Linked DNA regions of Homo sapiens: region 1 is linked to region 2. Evidence: promoter capture Hi-C in human tissues and cell types (Jung and others, 2019). All regions are on one chromosome and are shown on one strand. Each heading gives the region's core, a stretch centred on a gene start or on the middle of the fragment in contact. The rest is flanking DNA. Distances are from core to core; before and after follow the strand shown.

What was found. The method cuts DNA at HindIII sites, captures the fragments that hold promoters and counts their contacts. A contact is called where the count stands out against the background at its distance.
Region 1: a fragment that was not itself captured here is called in contact with the fragment with the promoter of PLVAP in region 2 in 1 of the 25 tissues and cell types used here (dorsolateral prefrontal cortex).

The regions. Positions count from the first base shown.
Region 1 is chr19:17,953,667-17,956,366 of GRCh38, reverse strand. It overlaps a transcript of KCNN1 not described here. Among named protein-coding and RNA genes, the nearest start is that of KCNN1, 12 kb to the left of the region's middle. The HindIII fragment of the contact is 4,437 bases long and covers 1-2,700 here.
Region 2 is chr19:17,375,894-17,378,593 of GRCh38, reverse strand. PLVAP (plasmalemma vesicle associated protein) reads left to right here and starts at 1,252. Exons shown (of 6, transcript NM_031310.3): 1 at 1,252-1,674. The coding sequence starts at 1,306. The HindIII fragment of the contact is 34,336 bases long and covers 1-2,700 here.

The sequences.
Region 1 (2,700 bases), core at 60-2,559, 580 kb before region 2:
GGCCTGGCAGACAGTAGCTAGCTTGCTCAGTGTTTGTTGATTGACTAAATGACCACCACCTCTGTTTTCTCCACACCCCCATGGGCAGCTTAGTGCTGACCCTGGATGTCAGTCAGTGTTCACCAAGGAGGCCTGGCTCAGTGGCTCACGCCTGCAATCCCAGCACTTTGGGAGGCCAAGACAGGTGGATCACCTGAGGTCAGGAGTTCGAGACCAGCCCGGCCAACATGGGGAAACCCCATCTCTACTGAAAACACAAAAATTAGCTGTGCGTGGTGACGCATGCCTGTAATCCCAGCTACTTGGGAGGCTGAAGCAGGAGAATCGCTTGAACCCGGTGGGGTGGAGGGTGGAGGTTGCAGTGAGCCAAGATCATGCCACTGCGCTCCAGCCTGGGCGACAGAGTCAGACTCTGTCTCAAAACAAACAAACAAAACAAAACAAAACAAAACTAAAAAAAAAAAGTTCACTGGAGAAAGGAGCACAGGAGCTGCCTTCCACAGAGCTGGCCTACCCTGGGGGCTGTCTCCAGCGAGACCACGAGAGCCGGGAAGTAGAGGCTGTGTGTGGGGGGCGGGGGCGGGAGTGGTGGGACAGAGCTCTTCCAACCTGGCTCAACACCCCACTTCTAGGTCATCTGGCCTCTCTGAATAGTTTCCCCAACTCCAGTGATCAAAGAAAGTGGACAGTAACTCCCCGGAGGCTCTAGAAAGCATAGTCCTTGCTATCATCATCATGATATATATGATATAATAATAATTATATTATTATTTTTTTTCTTTCTTTCTTTTTTTTTTTTTTTTTGGAGATGGAGTTTCACTCTTGTTGCCCAGGCTGGAGTGCAATGGCACAATCTCGGCTCACTGCAACTTCCGCCTCCTGGGTTCAAGTGATTCTCCTGCCTTAGCCTCCCAAGTAGCTGGGATTACAGGCATGCAGCACCATGCCTGGCTAATTTTGTATTTTTAGTAGAGATGGGGGTTTCACCCTGTTGGCCAGGCTGGTCTCGAACTCCTGACCTCAGGTGATCTGCCTGCCTTGGCCTCCCAAAGTGCTGGGATTACAAGCGTAAGCCACCACGTCTGGCCTTTTTTCTTTTTTTTTTTTTTAATTAAAGAGATGGGGGTCTCGCTCTGTCGCCTAGGCTGGAGTGCAGTGGCCATTCACAAGCGTGATCATAGCTCACTGCAGCCTCGAACTCCTGGACTCGATACTCCCACCTTAGCCTTCCGAGTAGCTAGGACCACAGGTGCACGCCACTGTACCCAGCTTGTTATTATTTCAAAAGCTGGCACTTTTTCCTCAGGTCACCTTTTTTTTTTTTTTTTTGAAACAGAGCTTTGCTCTGTCGCCCAGGCTGGAGTGCAGTGGCGCGATCTTGGCTCACTGCAACCTCTGCCTCCCGGATTCAAGTGGTCCTCCTGCCTCAGCCTCCCAAGTAGCTAGGATTGCAGGTGCCCACCACCATCCCCGGGCAATTTTTGTATTTTTAGTAGACACGGGGTTTCGCCATGTCGGCCAAACTGGCCTCAAACTCCTGACCTCAAGTGATCCACCTGCCTCAGCCTCCCAAAGTGCTGGGATTACAGGCGTGAGCCACCTAGCCTGCCCAGTTACCAATTTTTCTATCCAACCCCTGAGCCACCCCCACCCCCAAAGGCGACCCAAGTCTGGGATTCACTCACCCTAGGGTGCAGGGGTCTCCTCGCCGAGCCACTGCAAAGGGGCTGTCCCCTTCAGTCCTGCTGGTGACCACTTGACTGGGAGAGAGGGTGGCTGCTGCTGCCTTTCCTGTCCCTTTGAGATCTGTAATGATCAGACAGGGGGTGCGGGGTGGAGGCGGGGACCCAAAAGAGTAGGGTGCAGACAGCTCCCGGACTACAGTGGTCTTTCTTATTTTTTATTTTTTTGAGACAGAGTCTTGCTCTGTCACCCAGGCTGGAGTGTAGTGATGTGATCTCAGCTCACTGCAACTGCCGCCTCCAGGGTTCAAACAATTCTCCTGCCTCAGCCTCCCAAGCATCTGGGATTACAGGTGCCTGCCACCATGCCCGGCTACTTTTTGTATTTTTAGTAGAGATGGGGTTTTGCTGTGTTGGCCAGGCTGGACTTGAACTCCTGGCCAGAGGTGATTCACCTGCTTCAGCCTATTACGTACAATGGTCTTTACAGCAGATCTGCGCTCTGGCTTGGTGTTGCTGAGCTGGGTCATCTCCTAAGCTTTCAGGAAGCTTAAGAACAGTGGCTTTATCACTCCAATGGGGCCCTGGGCTAGCCCCACCTCTTCCATGTCCCCTCCCTAAGGCCACTCCTCCTTTCACTGGGCTCCAGAAGCTAGACACTGAATGCTTTATCTGTCTTTCCCAATGCTGTTCCTGCTCACCCCCTCACATTGCCCCTAGTTCCTTCGCCATGGGGAGATCTAGGTGGGTGACATTCAGGGAGGTGACATTTTGTCACCCAGGCTGGAGTGCAGTCGCATGAACATGGCTCACTGCAGCCTTGACTTCCCGGGCTCAAGCGATCCTCCCACCTTCGGCCCCCAAGTAGCTTGGACTACAAGTGTGCACCACTACACCTGGCTAATTTTTTTAATTTTTTGTAGAGACAGGGTTTCAGTACGTTGCCCAGGCTGGTCTCGAACTCCTGAGCTTGCCTCGCCCTTCCAAAGTGTTGGGATTACAGTTGTGAACCACCTCG
Region 2 (2,700 bases), core at 3-2,502:
GAGCCACTATGCCCGGCCGCCCATGGGGTTTTGAGTGTCGGGGGAGGAATCTCAGTCCCACGTATCCACCACTTGTCATTCACCATCTCACGGAGCCCCCAGCAGTGCCTCCAGCAGGAAATGATCCTAATCATAACAACAGCCACAGAGTGACGAGGCACTGGGTATACCCCGTCTCACAAAGGGGAAAAGGGAGGCACAGACATGCGAGGCCTCTTGCCCGAGCTCTCCCGGGACAAAGCCAGCTCTTCCCCGCTCCAAGTTCATTATTCCTTGTGCTGCAGTTTCCTGGAGCATTTACTGAGCATCTAAGTGAACAGGGCACTGGGGGCAATGACAGAGCTTGGGGAGCCAGCGCCACCGCCATCCATGGCTCAGCCCTCCGTGACGCCCTCCTATGCAATTACTAATCACCTACTGCTTCTCCATCCCTAGGCTAGCTAAGAGTTTCACACTTTTTCTGTTTTTTTTTTTTTTTGAAACAGAGTCTTGCTCTATACCCCAGGCTGGAGTGCAATGGCACGATCTCTGCTCACCGCAACCTCCGACTCCTGGGTTCAAGCGATTCTCCTGCCTCAGCCTCCTGGGTAGCTGGAATTACAGGCGAGCACCACCACACCTGGCTAAGTTTTGTATTTTTAGTAGAGACGGGGGGTTTCACCACGGTGACCGGGTTGGTCTCAAACTTCTGACCTCAGGTGATCCGTCCGCCTCAGCCTCCCAAAGTGCTGGGATTATAGGCGTGAGCCACCGTGCCTGGCACATTTCCCACGTTTTGTGGCACTTAATCAGCACCGCCCTGGTGAAGTGGGTGCACGTCTGTAGCCAGCCTGTCTTGAGGTAAGTCAAGTTCGCTGAACTAACAGCGTGAGACCCCGAGGCAACCCCTTCTCCTCCCTGTGCCTCAGTTTCCTCCGCCACACAAGGGAGACAGCAACAGACCTGGCATGATTCAGCGACCTAATCACAGCAGGTACTGAGAACAGCACCCGCCAGCAAGTAAAGGCGAACGCGAGGCTCGAAGAGGCCAGGAATGCCTGACCAGCCAGCCAGCGCCCCACCCAGCATTAATCAGAGGGGTCCAGCCGGTGCCCTGGCTCTGGGCCCCCAGCCCCACCCCCGCCTTCTCACAGCCAGAGTGGGAGTGTTGTGATAACCCGCAGCCCCCGTTTCCTCCGGGCCAGGAAGGAGCCAGGCAGAGGAAGTATTAAGAGGAGTAATATAAGCACTCCCCCCTGCGAGGCGGGGGCCAGAGCAGGCCTGGTGGTGAGCAGGGACGGTGCACCGGACGGCGGGATCGAGCAAATGGGTCTGGCCATGGAGCACGGAGGGTCCTACGCTCGGGCGGGGGGCAGCTCTCGGGGCTGCTGGTATTACCTGCGCTACTTCTTCCTCTTCGTCTCCCTCATCCAATTCCTCATCATCCTGGGGCTCGTGCTCTTCATGGTCTATGGCAACGTGCACGTGAGCACAGAGTCCAACCTGCAGGCCACCGAGCGCCGAGCCGAGGGCCTATACAGTCAGCTCCTAGGGCTCACGGCCTCCCAGTCCAACTTGACCAAGGAGCTCAACTTCACCACCCGCGCCAAGGATGCCATCATGCAGATGTGGCTGAATGCTCGCCGCGACCTGGACCGCATCAATGCCAGCTTCCGCCAGTGCCAGGGTGACCGGGTAAGGCTGTGGGCAGGACACTCGCCCTGGGGACCCTGAGCAAGCCCCCTCACCTCTCTGAGCCTGAGTTTCCTCATCCAAGAGAGGGGGACGATCACAGGACCAATGCTCTCTTTTCTTATGAGACAGAGTCTCGCTCCGTCTCCCAGGCTGGAGTGCAGTGGTGCAATCTCGGCTCACTGCAACCTCTGCCTCCTGGGTTGGAGTGATTCTCCTGCCTCAGCCTCCCGAGTAGCTGGGATTACAGGCATGTGCCATCATAACCGGCTCATTTTTGTATTTTTAGTAGAGATGGGGTTTCACCATGTTGGCCAGGCTGGTCTCAAACTCCTGACCTCAAGTGATACGCCTGCCTTGGCCTCCCAAATTGTTGGGATTACAAGCGTGAGCCACTGCACCCGGCCGATAGATTTTTTTTTTTTCCTTAAGAGACAGGGTCTCCATGTGTATCCTGGGCTGGATGGAGTGCAATTGCTATCACAGCTCACTGCAACCTCAATCTCCTGGACTCAAGTGATCCTCTTGCCTCAGCCTCCTGAGTAGCTGGGACTACAGGCGTGCACCACCACACCCAGCTAATATGTTTATATTTAGCAGAGATGAGGTCTCACTATGTTGCCCAGGCTAGTCTCGAACTCCTGGGCTCAAGCAATCCTCTCACCCCAGCCTCCCAAACTGCTGGGATTACAGGTGTGGGGCACTGCGTCCAGCTAAATTTTTTTTATTTCTTTTCTTTTTTTTGGAGGCAGGGTCTCACTCTGTCACCCAGGCTGGAGCACAGTGATGTGAGCATAGCTCACTGAAGCCTTGACATCCTGGGCTCCAGCAATCCTCCTGCCTCAGCCTTTTGAGTAGCTGGCACTATGGACATGCCACTATGCCCAGGTCATTTTTTATTTTTAGTAGACGTGGGGTCTCGCTATGTTGATCAGGCTGGTCTTGAACTCCTGGGCTCAAACAATCCTCCCTCCTGGACCTCCCAAAGTGCTGAGATTACAGGTGGGCACCACCACACCTGGCAATTTT